Regions from separate parts of the Homo sapiens genome. Here all the other regions are linked to region 1. Evidence: promoter capture Hi-C in 16 types of primary human blood cells and fetal thymus (Javierre and others, 2016). All regions are on one chromosome and are shown on one strand. The core of a region is centred on a gene start or on the middle of the fragment in contact, and the rest is flanking DNA. Distances in the headings are between cores, read along the strand shown. Region 1 holds the start of AEN (apoptosis enhancing nuclease). Region 2 overlaps FANCI (FA complementation group I). Region 3 overlaps ABHD2 (abhydrolase domain containing 2, acylglycerol lipase). Region 4 overlaps ABHD2 (abhydrolase domain containing 2, acylglycerol lipase).

What was found. Contacts are between HindIII fragments. The CHiCAGO score rates a contact against its expected background, and 5 or more counts as called.
Region 2: a contact is called between a fragment that was not itself captured here and the fragment with the promoter of AEN in region 1, in 2 of 17 cell types (activated CD4 T cells and monocytes). The highest score is 6.6, in activated CD4 T cells.
Region 3: a contact is called between a fragment that was not itself captured here and the fragment with the promoter of AEN in region 1, in 1 of 17 cell types (total B cells). The highest score is 7.4, in total B cells.
Region 4: a contact is called between a fragment that was not itself captured here and the fragment with the promoter of AEN in region 1, in 4 of 17 cell types (total B cells, non-activated CD4 T cells, total CD8 T cells and 1 more). The highest score is 8.8, in total B cells.

Annotation. Positions count from the first base shown.
Region 1 is chr15:88,619,705-88,623,470 of GRCh38, reverse strand. It overlaps AEN (apoptosis enhancing nuclease), which reads right to left and starts at 2,131. Exons shown (of 4, transcript NM_022767.4): 1 at 2,089-2,131. RefSeq lists enhancers at 1-600, 2,087-2,246, 1,576-2,249, 2,250-2,923 and a silencer at 1,877-2,066. The HindIII fragment of the contact is 13,176 bases long and covers 1-3,766 here.
Region 2 is chr15:89,247,234-89,250,999 of GRCh38, reverse strand. FANCI (FA complementation group I) reads right to left here. Exons shown (of 38, transcript NM_001113378.2): 2 at 3,269-3,371. The coding sequence starts at 3,352. Among named protein-coding and RNA genes, the nearest start is that of FANCI, 5.1 kb to the right of the region's middle. The HindIII fragment of the contact is 3,959 bases long and covers 1-3,688 here.
Region 3 is chr15:89,172,499-89,176,264 of GRCh38, reverse strand. ABHD2 (abhydrolase domain containing 2, acylglycerol lipase) reads right to left here. Exons shown (of 11, transcript NM_152924.5): 6 at 270-453. Among named protein-coding and RNA genes, the nearest start is that of RLBP1, 47 kb to the left of the region's middle. The HindIII fragment of the contact is 4,890 bases long and covers 1-3,766 here.
Region 4 is chr15:89,148,420-89,152,185 of GRCh38, reverse strand. ABHD2 (abhydrolase domain containing 2, acylglycerol lipase) reads right to left here. Exons shown (of 11, transcript NM_152924.5): 4 at 334-509. Among named protein-coding and RNA genes, the nearest start is that of ABHD2, 62 kb to the right of the region's middle. The HindIII fragment of the contact is 176 bases long and covers 1,636-1,811 here.

The DNA of each region.
Region 1 (3,766 bases), core at 882-3,381:
GAAAGAGGTCTGGAGAAGATGAAAACCTGAGCAGTAGCAGCAGAGATTAAGAGAAATGGGAAGGGGATGGGAGGTGAGGTGAAATGCCAGGTTTGATGATGCCAGCATTTGCATAAAGAATCCCCACACTCTAGGGCAGGGCACCGCATCCTGACTTGACTCATCCAGACCTGACCCATCCTGACTCATCCACCCTGCTTGCTCATCCCATCCTTTCCAGGAGAAAAGGTCTCTCTTTTAAAAAGGTCTTAACTGTAACCAACTTCCTCATATTGACAGTCACATCTTAGAACTGACAAATTCAGAACCTTAATCTGCCTCAGCCCAGCAATGGGAGAAAAAAGCCTAAGAAGCCCAATGCCCACCCTGCTAATAACTAATTTGGGAAAGGGGGCTGGCGGATAGTCCCCTCCTTTCTCTGTGAGGGGCTGAGGCTAGGAGTAGGGTGGGTGGCTTTCCTGATCCTACTGGCAAGGTTTTAAAGAAGCCAGAAATTAAGTTATCTGAGAAAAGGTCTCTGTAGCCTCCTATTTCAAGAGAGGAAAGTAGTCCTTTTCCAAACACCCTGACCTTGCTTAAGAGAAGAGAGAAAGAGACCTCCCCCTCATATTGTTCTGTATTATTTTATACTCAGTACCTGTTTTAAGAAGAAACAAGGAAGCAAAACCAAAGGCAGGCAGCCCGGCGCCACGCACCAGACCCAAAACCAGACCCAAAACCAGGCCTGGGCCTGCCTGACCTTAGCCTGATAGTTAAAATTAAACCCATGACCTAGCAACCGATGTTATCCATAGATTTCAGACATTGTATAGAAGGACACTGTGAAATCTCTTGTTCTGTTCTGTTCTGTTTCACTCTGACTACCGGTGCATGCAGTCCCTGTCACATACCCCCTAGATTGCTCAATCAATCATGGCCCTTTCTTGTAAAATCTTTAGTGTTGTGAGTCCTTAAAAGGGACAGAAACTGTGCACTCAACAAGCTCGGATTTTGAGATGCTAGTCTGCCGATGCTTCCAGCTGATTAAAAGCCAATTCCTTCACTACCTCTGTGGGGTTTTGTCCGCGGCTCCTCCTGCTACATGCTGACACGTCAAAACCAACAGTCATCAAGGACACACCTCTTTGGGGACCCAAATGTAGCTCAGTGAAGCTGGAGAGAAGTTCCGCTCAGATAAAACAACCCTTTCAACAAGGACAAACACAAGCCTTTCTCTAGCCTGGACCCAGCGCTCTGGGGGTCAGACACCCGGCCTTCAGGCAGGGAGGGGGTCTGGCCTAAAGAAAGGGTCCCAGCTGCAGAGTCAATGGAGCAAAGGCCCCAAAGGAACCAAGAAGTCAGAATCCTCGGTGGCATGAGAGCCACCAACCTGCTGGCTGATCAAGAGGGCAGAGGGCAGTTCTAGACCCTCCTCTGGCACTAAGTAGCTAGATGATCTGGGGCAAGTCACGTCTCTTCACCATCAACCGAGGGCTGTGAATTAGATAAGGGCTTCCCAAATGTAGTTAATTACCATATGACATCTGATGAAAGGCTGATTTTCAGGCCCACTCCCACACCGTCCTAATTGCTATTTTGGGGAAAGGGGCCTGAGAATCTAGATTTTTAAAAAGAGCGCGGACGACCCCTACCCTCAAGCCACAATTCTGATAATCGCCCAAACCTGAAAAAACCTGGCTCGATAAGGTCCCCTGTGCTGCTAAAAAGTCCACGGAACAACGACAACAACTAAAGTCTGCTATCCTGGCACGACCTCCCCGCCGGCTGGCGTTCTCCCAGGCGTGACGCGTGGGAGGCCTGATCTCACCGGGAAGGACTCGGGCGTTGGTCACTTGCTGGCCGCGGCAGCTGGGCCGAGTCCCAACGACCAGCGCCGCCCCCTCTGGCCCTGGACCCCCGAGCAGAGCGAGGGCTGGAGACAGGCGGCGCCCGGCCTGCTTTTCTGCGGGCCGGTAGGGCAGGGTCAGCCCAGTTCAGGCGTCCCCGCCGCAGGCCGGGGCGGAAACAACGCGCGGGGACCTGCGACCCGGGACACGCGGCCTCAGCCCGCCCGACCCCGCCGCCCCGGTGCAGGGTCCTGGATCTCACCTGAAGCCCCGCGTGTCTCTTCCGGTCTGCACGTGGCGTCCGGAAAGCCGGCAGCTCCCACATGCCCGGGCAAGCCCGGCTCCGACTGCCCGCCTATTGGCTCGCTGGACGGCAGCGCCCGCCCAAGACCTCTTCTGATTGGTCGAGCCTGCCTGGCAGCGGGGAGGCGGGCGAGAGCAGAAGGGGAGGGACTCCTGAAGAGGGCGTAACTCGTGCTGCGAGCCGGCCATACTGGCGGGAAATTTTAAAGAGAAGGGAAGGGAGACTGACCTCCTGTCGTCCCTGCCCGGTCCCATCAGTGTTCCCCGGCTCCAATCCACTCCTCTACCTGGGTCGGGATGTGGGCTCCTGTAAGCCTGGTACCACCAAAGGCCGAATGACTTACTGAGTACACCCACATCTGCAGATTGGGAACATCGGCCCTTACCTCCTCGGGTGTTCTGGGATTCAAGGAAATAATATACACAGTAGGCACTAAAGAGAGACTTTGAAAGTCAGGTTTCCTCCGTCAGCGCTGCTTTTTCATTTATTCTTTTGCAACACTTGACTCCTAAGTATTAAGTTCCTACGTGGGCTTGGCAGTGGGATGCACACAATAAACACATAAGCATCCTGAGTTGTTTATCTAACAGCAGGGAAACAGCAAGGTTAACAGAAAATTCAGTGCAACATGAGGCCGGGGCGCGGTGGCTCACGACTGTAATCCCAGCACTTTGGGAGGCCGAGGCAGGTGATCACCTGAAGTCAGGAGTTTGAGACCAGCCTGACCAACATGAAACCCCATCTCTCCAAAAATACAAAAATTAGCCGGGCGTTGACGGGAGCCTGTAATCCCAGCTACTCGGGAGGCTGAGGCAGGAGAATCGCTTGAGCCCAGAAGGCGGAGGTTGCAGTGAGCCGAGATCGCGCCATTGCACTCCATCCAGCCTGGGCACCAAGAGCAAAACTCCGTCTCAAAAAAAAAGAAAGAAAGAAAGAAAGAAAATTCAGTGTAACATGAGTAATAACAAGAACAATAATAAACAGTTCACACGTATTATGTGAGCACGAATGATGTGCCAGGCAAAATACTCAGTTAATTTGTACAATGACCTTACTATTATTTCAGTTTTACAGTTAAGGAAATTGACACTTAAATTAAGGAGAAACACCTAGAATCCAAAGATCCTTACCTAAGCAGTCTGACTTCTCTTAGTTCACATTTTGCAAGCAGAAGTGATTTGGAAACGTACCTGTGATGAGAAATAAGCTAGGAGCTCTTTCTGATGGGAGTACAAATTTGAGGGAAGCAGGACAAGGGATGAGGTCACAAGAGAGATCAATCCTTTTACCCAGGCCCCTGAAGGCTTTGGGGAGGCAGAGGGATTTAAGCCATAGATAGTTTACCAGTGAATCTGCATTTGAAAAAACTTGTTCTGGCTGCAGCATAGAGAGGAATGGATGAGGACTGGAGAAAGGAGTGGGGGAGTGTTTGTGGAAATTTGGAAGATCATGATGTCCAGAGTGGTGTGGAGGATAAAGAGCTCCCCACCTAAGTAGCATTTGAAATGACAGATTCAAATGCTACTTAGGAGGCAGCGTTGATCAGAGAGCAGAGGGGAAGGGGTTATAGGACAGCGGTCTTCAGGCATGGGGACTGTGGGAGGTAAATCTGGGGCAAGGAGAGTTTTTTTTGTTT
Region 2 (3,766 bases), core at 460-2,959, 630 kb before region 1:
TCTCTACTTTATTAATTTCCACTTTTATCTTTAGTAGTTTCTTGTGTTTTTTTGTTGTTGTTTACTTTCTCTTTTTTCTAGGTTTTTGAGTTGGGAATTTATTTATTTTCATTATTTCATTTGTATTGATTTCATTATTTCATTTGTTAAACACTTGTTTTTAACATTATTCCATGGATTTTTAACATGTAGTATTTTTGTTATCTGTAATTATTCTTCAAAAATCCTGTAATTTGTTTGTATCTCTTTTCCTCCAAGAGTTATTTAGAAGGTATTTTTTTATTTTTATATATATATATATTTTTATTATACTTTAAGTTCTAGGGTACATGTGCACAACATGCAGGTTTGTTACATATGCGTACATGTGCCATGTTGGTGTGCTGCACCCATTAACTCGTCATTTACATTAGGTGTATCTCCTAATGCTATCCCTCCCCCCTCCCCTCACTCCACAACAGGCCCCGGTGTGTGATGTTCCCATTCCCGTGTCCAAGTGTTCTCACTGTTCAATTCCCACCTATGAGTGAGAACATGTGGGGTTTGGTTTTTTTGTCCTTGCGATAGTTTGCTGAGAATGATGGCTTCCAGCTTCATCCATGTCCCTACAAAGGACATGAACTCATCATTTTTTATGGCTGCATAGTATTCCATGGTGTAGATGTGCCACATTTTCTTAATCCAGTCTATCATTGTTGGACACTTGGGTTGGTTCCAAGTCTTTGCTATTGTGAATAGTGCCGCAATAAACATACGTGTGAATGTGTCTTTATAGCAGCATGATTTACAGTCCTTTGGGTATATACCCAGTAATGGGATCACTGGGTCAAATGGTATTTCTAGTTCTAGATCCCTGAGAAATCGCCACACTGTCTTCCACAATGGTTGAATAGAAGGTATTTTAATTTCCAAGTAAAAGTGTCTTTGCTTTTTGACTTTTAGTTTCGGTTTTCATTTCCAGTTTTATTGCATTGTGATCACAGAGAATAGTTTGTAATAATTCTACCTTATGGGACCTACCCATGTTTTCTTTGTGCTCTAGTATATGACATGTGATTAATTTTTATGAACATTCTATGTGTTTAAGAAGATAATATATTCTTATCAAAGTTCTCTGCATATATTTTAAATATTCTTTATATTTTCCACCTCTTTACAATCTGTGCTTTATTTAGTTATCCTCAGCTCTGTATTCCACTTTACTAATTTTCTCTTTAGCAATGTTTTGTCTACTGTTAAACCACCTACTGAGGTTTTCATTTCAAGAAGTTGTCTTTCATTGTTTTCTAAATCCATCCCTTATTTTGTGAGTTCTATTCCTTCATTTACATCTTCAAATATTTTAAATACTAGGTCAGGCAGAGTGGCTCACACGTGTAATCCCGGCACTGTGGGAGGCTGAGGTGGGTGGATTGCTTGAGCTCAGGAGTTCAAGACCAGCCTGGAAAGCATGGCGAAACCCCATCTCTGCTAAAAATACAAAAATTAGTCGGACATGGTGGCACATGCTTGTACTCCCAGCTACTCAGGAGGCTGAGGTGGGAGGATCGCATGAGCCCAGGAGGTTGAGGCTGCAGTGTGCCGAGATCGCCCCACTGCACTCCAGCCTGTGCAAGGGTGAGATCCCACCTTTAAATAAATAAAGTTAAATACTGTATTAAGTATTTGTGTTAAATAATTAAAGATTTTTTTCAGATTGCTCTAAATCCTTGAATATGAATTTTCCCATTTCTGTTTGAGTCTTTCTTGCCACAGGACTTCTTTATGTGTTTTATAATTTTTTACTCTGAGTTCATCTTCTGTGGGACATTTTATCAAATGAACTGCCTGCATATATTACTGACATGCTTAACAAATTTGTAGAGGATAAAAAGCTGATTAATACGGTCAGCAGAATCATACAAAATGATCTTGATGGAGTAAAACAAGATGAATCTAAAAAAGGTGACAGTTAACAGATATAAAGTTTGTTGTTTTGGTAGTTGTTTTTAGAAACTGGGTCTCACTATGTTGCCTAAGCTGATCTCGAACTCCTGGCCTAAAGGAATCCTCCCAAAGTGCTGGGACTACAGGTGTAAGTCACCATGCCTGGCCTATATATAGTTTTTAACATGGATTCTAAAAGGACTTCAGAGATAAAGGAAACTTAGCAACTTATCAACATATACAAAAATAAATATAAGAGCAATGAGACTACAATATAATGTTGCTGCCAAAAAGCTGATTTTGCATTAATGGAAAAATGAGGGAAATATTAGCATTACTCTATCCTAGAGTCAGAAAACATCTGGAACACTGTCTTCAATTTGACAGTGTTCACGCCTTCAATTTGAGGCATGAAACTTTAAATAAATAATTTAAATGCTAGTTTCAATCAAATCTTGTCTATAGAATGATTCAAGTTACAACTCATGCAACAAGTCATCTCAAAAAATAGCTATAAAGGCAATCTTGGATAATTTCAAAGAAAAAAAAATCAAAGAGCAACACTGCATCAATTCCTAGTTAGTATGTCAGATAACACACACTAAGATGCACCTTCCTTCAATAACTACAACATTAACACAAAGAAATTCCCTTAAAAACATAATACTCATCAATTGACAGAAAAAGGAAAAAAATCCCATGATACTCAATGTCTTTACTTGTTTGTACATATACCTTGAAGAGGGATTCTTTTCCAGGCAGGGACCTGGATAGGATGAGATCACTTATGGAAAAAGGAGCAGTATATCAGCTGAGAAAGAACATTAGGGAGAAGAAACAGCCTAACATATAAGGCAATTACTATCCCATTTTATAATCCTACACTTATAGTGAAAACAGAGGCCCTAATTTTTACTAATAATTTCAAAATATTTTGCCGCTTATAAACTTAATTTCTTTACGGAAAAATACAGAGAAGCATCAAAATGCAAAACTAATGTCTCAATCAGTAACTATAGTCTGGATATTATCATCAAATAGGATTGTTCTGAGGACCATAAAAGTATACTAATTGCTTTTATAAATACAGTTGTAAAAGCATTCTATTCTTAAACTATTTCAGGTTTAAACTTGGTCACAAATGCCCTCAAGTAGTCTATTTCTCTCATTCCCTCACCCCAATTTCTTTACATCTATAAATTATTATTAAATAAATCCTTGTCTCCTACAGTGAATGGGGAGTAGATGAAGAAGCAGCGTAATTTTTCTTTCTCACATGTCCTTTGAATGTGTCATCATGCCTGACATTTACTTTTAGCAGAACATGCTTCCTAATACTCACATCACCTTCTCTCAGGGTTTGAAGAAATTCTTGCAGTTTGTCTGCTGTTTTTTCTGCTGCTAGAGATAAAATCTTCTGGTCCATTGTTGCTCATATCACAGAACTACAAGGGAAAAACGTCAGAGGTGGGTGAAGATTCCAGAAATAAACAAACTTGATTTGTTTTCCTTCCCTGTTAACTGAATATTTCATACCTATTATGCAATGGGTGCTCAACAAACTTAGGACTATCTTTAAGTAGCTGATTCTTTTTTCTTCTTCTTCTTAAGCTCAGTGGCAAGATGATTCTTAACCTAACCAAAATAATCCTGAAAATTCCCTGGAATTGCCTTATTAGGAATCTGTATTCTAATCAAGTGGTTTCATAATTTTTGCCCACACTTGTTACCATCTACTCACCATACTACCTAGAACAAAGCTTCCATTTAACAGCATATCAAGTATGTAATACATTATATATTACCATAAGCATGTAATAAAGTATTTGACAAATAAATG
Region 3 (3,766 bases), core at 929-3,428, 550 kb before region 1:
TAGGAGACAGCAACTATCAAAGGGGGTTTTACTTCTCCAATTACAGATCTGACCCCAAAACGCAGCTGCATATCCCAGGCTTAAGGGGTCTGATGGGGCATCTCCAATGTATGATATGCAGACAAAACAAGGTGAGTCCAAGACTCAGAAACTTCTACTCAGTCGGCCACAGTGTTCCCCGGTCTTCACAGAACAGTGTGTTGTGCGTCGGGGCATCTCTATAAATAAGGGCTAACTGAAGGCCCTGATGGAAGGCGGAGATGACTCACCTCAGTGCACTGTACCCCTGGCACACGCTGACGCAGCACAGGACCTTCTCTTGGTTTGCCTGAGTCTCCCCCAAGTATTTGCACACAATGTTACCACCCAGGCTGAAGCCCACGACGACCAGCTGGGTCAGGGGATATGTCTTCTTGATGTAGTTCACCATGGCTCCAAATTCCCACGTGCAGCCTGTGGGCAAAAGGGTGAGATTGCTCAATCATTTCAGGTGCATCCTATCTGGAGAAAATGCAAGCTGGAACGTTACTAAATGGGTGCCAGTATACTAAAAGAGAGAGAAATATATATGTGTATATATACGTGTGTGTGTCGGGGGATGTGTGTGGAGAGAGAGACAGACACTGCTCTTTGGCTATCCAGACAGAAGTTCCCAGATGCCCCTTGGGATAAGAGGAAACAGGGCCTCAGCAGTGCCAAAGCGTGGAGGTACCATGTATCAAATGTACAATGCTTCTTAAAAGGTAGGTCACAAGAACCGTGTCTAGATAATCATGGATATCAAAGCAGATTTCAGGGTGTGCATGAGCACATATGCTCACACACAGACCTAAATAAAAGCTAGGCCAGCCTGGACAAAATGGTGAGACCCCACCTCTACACACTACAGGTGTGTCCTTGTAGTCCCCGCTACTTAGGAGGCTGAGGCAAGAGGATCCCTTGAGCCGGGGAGGCAGAGGCTACAGTGAGCCAAGATCGCATCACTGCACTCCAGCCTGGGTGACAGAGTGAGACCCTGTCTCAAAAAAATAAAATAAGTAAATAAATAAATAAATGCAAGAGCAAAATCCTTTGAGATTAGCTTCCTAGGCTACAAATTGGGATGCTATACCCATGTGTATGATGATTCATGGTGTTAAGAAAAGTAGCAAGTGGATGTTATTTACAGAATCTTCTTGACAGAGTTGGAAAGGAGAGGAAAGATAAACTTCAGTCCAGAGGGACTGCCAGGATGCTCTGTAGGATTAGGGTAAAACGTTCTTGGTGACATAGGGACAGGGTGCCAAGGGAGGCAGGCTCATTCAAAAATACACAGATGAGACCTCTTAACAGAGAGGGTTGTTTGGGCCTCATTTGCCCAGGAGAGATGATCTCAGCTGGTGTCCCCTTGGGAAGTTATTGAAGCCATGTTATGTCTCAGCAGCTTTGCTAAGAGGAGGAGGTGAATGGCCATATTACAAGTGAAGGGATTCATCACATCCTTCTAAGGCCCAACCTCAAACTCTGTAGGGAGCCAATTTAAAATCTAACATGGAAAGATAGGGATGTCGACGCAAAGCACATACAAAATAGACTGGCATGAGAAGAGTACGGATTTACAATGGAAACGGGAGTTGTTGACTTTGGCACCAGCTCAGAGGTTTTGGCATTCTTAATAGAGTTGAACAGCTCCTTCCCTAATCATCAAGCCATGGGGGAAAGTATCTTTTGAGCCTGGGGTAAACTCCCCTTATATCTGTCTTCTTTTGTGGTAGGATGTAGCCTAAGCCAGGCCGGCACAGCCCCATGCAGTTCTTAAGCTGCAGTGTGCATAGAATCACCTGGAGAGGGTGTTAGAAATGACCATTCCTGGGCCTCAACTCCAGAGAAGCTGATTCTGTAAGATGGGGACCAAGCCCAGGAATCTATAGTGACTTTGTTTTTGAGTAGGTAATTCATGCCCATGGTAGAAAATTCAAATGCTGTAAAAGATGGAGTGAAAGGTAAGTTTCCTATATTCTTTTTAAAAATACCAGTGGTAACATACACATTGTTCGGTGGCTCTTTTTTTCCCTTTACAATATGTCTGGCAATATTATGCATCAATACACTTGAAACTGCCCTATTCTTTTTTATTTTTAATGGGGTATAACATACATACAGGAAAATGCACAATCAATGAAATTTTACACATTTATACCCAGGTAAGCATTGCCCAGATGAAGACGCAGAATATTTTTGACACCCCTGGAGGCCTCCTCATGCCTCTTCCCAGACAGTATCCCCTATACTTTTGACTAATAATCATGATCTGGAAATGCTGGGGGCTTAGAAGGAGCTTAAGCAAGAGATGCCTAAAACTAAGGGAAAAACCGGGCCAAGAGCTGCTTCCTCCCAAACAGCAGGACCCAGGCACCAACTTTGAGAAGGCAGCCCGTCTCCCTCTCCAGTGAGATAGTAGAGGATCAAGCTGCTTATTTTTCTCCCTCTTACACTCAGCAGAGGCTGGGGCAGTTTGCAGGCCTTCAATAAAGAGTTGCTGAATTGAGTGGATTCTGATGACAAGGCCTCTGAATGGGCCCTGAGGACAGGGAAGGAACAAAAACCTGGTCCAGAAGGATCCTTGAACTCTTAACTTTGGAATGTGAAATGCCAGACTGTTGTCCCCACCGAAGTCAGATTCATTCAAGTTTCTTTTTGTTCGTTTGTTTTTGAGACAGAGTCTCGCTCTGTCACCCAGGCTGGAGTGCAGTGGCACAATCTTGGCTCACTACAACCTCTGCCTCTCAGGTTCAAGCGATCCTCCTGCCTCAGCCCCCTGAGTAGCTGGGGTTACAGGCATGTGCCACCATGTCCAGCTAATTTTTGTATTTTTAGTAGAGACAGGGTTTTGTCTTGTTGGCCAGTCTGGTCTTGAACTCCTGACCTCAGGTGATCTGCCTGCCTCCGCCTCCCAAAGTGCTGGGATTACAGGCATGAGCCACTGCCCTGGCCAAGTTTCTCTTTTTAAGAAGGTAGCAATGGAAGGAATATTATGCCTCCAGGGAATGCTGGATTTCAAAATGTAGCTGTGATATAAAAAAGGGGATGTGCAAACAAACAGCTGAGAGCACAATGAGCAATTAGCTGATATCAGCTTCTACACCACGCAACAAATAAAAAATTTAGAAATCCCAAAGGAGACATTTGTTCACCTCCCTTGGGCCATAACAGGCACTGAAAACCAGGCCTTAAAGGAGCAGCCTGGCCTCATGGCTAAGTGAAAAGGCCCTGTGGCCAGACTGCTTGGGCCTACCACTTAGTGGCCCCAAATGTTCTCAATTTCTCTTTGATGACAAGTAACCCCCGTATACAGGGAAAATCTTCAGCTTCCAGGCTCCTTTCTGGAGGCTTAGAACCTACAGGAATAGGATGAGGCCTGGGAATGGGAACTTTCAACAAACAGCCCAGACAATTTTTGTAGTGAGGAAACTGTGCAAAATACCGTTACCTTGGGTAAGTTACCAAACTCTCCTAGGTCTGTTTCATCATCTGTAAAATGGAAGTAACAAGAGTAAAGACTTCGTAGAGTTGTTTAGAGATGTGAATAAAGTGATATACATAAACAGCTTAGATCAGGGTCCAGAGCATAATAAGCATTCAATGTTAATGGCTATAACTGACTCTAATTATTTTCTCTTTTAAAAATATGTAAGTATACCCATGTTTATAGCAGCATTATTCACAATAGCCAAAAAGTGGAACCAACCCAAGTGTGCCTTGATGGATGAATGGATAAGAGCAATGT
Region 4 (3,766 bases), core at 474-2,973, 530 kb before region 1:
GCGAATGGAGTGAACCTGGGAGGCGGAGCTTGCAGTGAGCCGAGATCGTGCCACCGCACTCCAGCCTGGGCGACACAGCGAGACTCCGTCTCAAAAAAAAAAAAAAAACTATTCTACAATGAGTTCTGAAGAGCTTTACATGGTGACTGGCAAACATACGCTGAAGCTAACCTTTGCAGGCTGCTCCTAAGTGACGAATCCCAGCAGGCTTCCCAACAGCCCCTGATGCCATGGGCAGAGTCAGTGGCACAAGTATTCACACTGCTGTGCTCTCCACTGACTAGTGCTCCTTCTCTGAGTGATGGCTCAATCACACAATCTAAAGCAGCTCACCTCCAACACAGTGCTCAGCCAAGGGCTCGAAGAGGTCGAATGTAGAAGTGGCTCCATCAGACATAGTGATGAACTTCCGGTGCCCATAAGGATGTGGCGACCTCACCCTTCCCATCTTCCCATACAAGGCTGTCTGGATGTGTCCACTTTTCCCCCAGATCAACGGTGGAATGTATCTAAAGAAAGGACAAGGGAGGTCAATTTTCTCTACATTCCTTGAGCAACGTTCTGAAAAATCTTTTAGCAAAACTCTTTCAACCTATTTTTGTTCCAGGGAAATTCTGCACACAAAGCATAAACATGAGGCTTTTATTACGTTACATCCGTGCCATGATTTACCGCCTTTCCCCATTTACTAATACACTCTGCATCAGATTAGCTTTAGAAATCAACCAGGACATATATATAAAGAGGATTTCAATTTAGGGTAACTGTTAAGTAATTCAACATGGCTTATTTCCATAATATAGAATAAAAAGAAAGCAAGTGATATATTTTGAACACATTCTAACTTGACAGGTTAGCTCATTATTAAAGGAGCTGATGTATATGAAATAGCATAGCGCCTACACTCACTAAAAGCTCACTTCTTCTTTCCCTAACGAGACAGGCCACAGCTGTAGTGGTTACTCCATTAGCCAAACCTGCTACTCTCAGTTAGTGCTGGGAAGGGCTGCAAATTCTTCTAAGAGCCTGTAAGTGCCTTGTGGGGTGAGGGCACTACTCTATGCTCCAGAGAATATGCTGTAAGGGCAGTGCAGTGTAAATATTTGTTGGATTGATTAAGGATAAAGGCTTGTTAGCCTACGCAAGGCATGAAGCCTCGCTAACAACGGTGCATTGTAAAAACACAGAGTGACTCTAGGCGTTGGTAGGAAATGCAAAAATCACAAATAGTTAATTACCAGGAAAAGAAGATGATCCAAGTTACAACTAAGAAATGATTATGGTTTACAACCACAGTACAAGGTGACTGCATTTACTGAAACCGCTGTTGGTTTCACTTCCATGGCTTTTAGCCCAAGCTTGATGGTTGTCCAGGATTTGTCTCCTATATAAACTGGAGTCGTATAATATAAAATGATAGTGACGTCAATCATTCCCCTCTGTATTATATGGCAGTGGTGAGTGTTTTATTAATAATTTACCTTAACCTACTTGCCTATCATTTCTCTCAGAACCAGATGATCCCCAAAACCCATCTTTGATTTACTCCTTGTATGTGTGTGTAATTAATCAAATCTACACAAAGTTAAGAGAAGTGAAGCTATCACCTTAAGCAAACCAGTTCCCAGACAAGCTTCCTTTTCGGGGGAGGGGAGGAGGGGAAAGAGTATTTTAAGACCTTAAGGACATGAAGCCACTTGCCAGCGTAACACCACAGGTGCAAATATCACTGCAAAAGCCATGGCATTTGGAAGGCAGGCGAAGGCATTTATAAGAGCTGAGTGGATTATGACAGTAACAAAAAGCAAGCTTATAAAAATGTCAATTGGACAACCAAACACTATACAAGATCTAGATACAGAACTTATAAAGGATTTCAGACTACCAAGTTAGATAATAAGTTTTGCATAGAGGAAGAGGACTATCCAAGAAATTAAGCTTTTGATCACTCCTGGAGGAAAGTTTAAAGAAAATTTTGTTTATAAATTAAAAGTGGAAATATGCTGAGCTTAAAAATATCAGAAGAATGAGTAAATTTCATATGCCTACCTTCTGATCATGTTTAGAATACAATATAATCTCAGAAAATAGAACAAAAGAATGAAGTAAAATTTCTTTTTGTCTAGTCACAGATTTCACATTTAATGATGACACATGTGACTGTCCTGATGCCACATTCCCAGTTTAGAGTCAGGTCCCCTCCTCAAAATCTTGGCAGCAGCCCCCCAAGCGGCCTCCAAGCCTCTAGTCTTGCTCTCACCACCTACTCCATCATCCACCCGCCAATGGAGGGGTGATCTCAACACACAAGCCTGGCCCCCACCCTCCACTGCATGGGTCCTCACTTGGCCTAGGAGGCCGGCTACACCCTGGTACTCGCTTAACTTCTTGCCTAAGCTCAAATAAACCTAAACTACCAGGCCCAACTCCAGCCAGAACAGGTACACGTGGTGTTGAACTACTTTTATCTGAGGAGTCTTTGCTCAAGCTGTCTCCTTTGACTGGAATGCTCTTTCACACCCAGCGTTTCTTTGGGCCACCTACTACTTGTCTTTCAAGACTCACTTCCAGTCAGGTTGCTGGGGGGGTTGCCCCTTCTCCATGCACAGCTCCGTCCTAACATCCAGGTGACTTGATTACTTTAGATGCTGTTTTCAAGCCAACCCCTCCTGCTGCTCATTCACCTCTAGCTCTATCCCCAGAGCACTGGACATACATTACACACCTGGGGGAGATTTGCTTCAATGAACAGAATATAGAGACACTTAGTAAATCTAAAAGGACAAATATATGTTTTTAAAATATACAAAAATATATTTAAAAATAATATGTGCCATAATAATGTGAATTCAGCTATTACATGATTGGCGTTAGGCGACTGTCCTCTTTCCAGCCTACCTAACACCCCATTCTCAGAGTGGGGTGCAGTAATTCTCAGTGTGAGTGTGTGTGTGTGTGTGTGTGTGTGTGTTAGGGATCAATTGCCTCACAATCACTTGGGACTTTCTCAGTTCAATGTAAGATCAATTATACACAGTGGAAGTCTCAAAAGGTTTAATTTTATGACAATACCTACTGATAAAACACTGTTTTTAATTAACTTCATAATAATACAACACCAGGGTTTACAAAATTGAATTTTTAGACTGCATTTACTATGGTGGGGTTCAATGTGTAGTTGTTTGTTTATATAACTTATCCACAGACCACAAGAAAAAAATTTAAAAACAAAAAACTGAATAGGTGCCCAGTCACATGGTTTAGGTCAGGAAGGAAATATGGACTAAAACAATAGAATATTTTGAAATTTATATAAACATATAAATACTGAAGAAATGCTGCTAAAATGGTACACGAAGGAATATGCTTTTTCTATCTATGTGGTAGTTCGAAAATGTAGCGGCCAATAATTCCACTTATTCCATTCTTCTGCCGGGAGCTAGATTCCCTCCTTGTGATCTGGACTGGCCTGTGGCTTCTCTGGGCTTACAGAAGGTGGCAGAAGGACTGCCATGCCAATTTAGGCCTGGCCCTTAGGAGATATGGCTGCTTTTGCACTCTCCTCCTTGTAAGCCTGATGAGAGGGCATACAGAAGGCACTGTGATGGAACTGAGAGGTATGTGCGTTTTACATTTTGTAGATACTGCCAAGTTGCCTTCTAAAAAAGATGGGTTCATTTACATTCCCACCAATAACGAAGGAAAGTACCTGTCTTCCTCACCCTCATTAATAATTGGCATTATTAATCTTTTACATTCTGGCCAC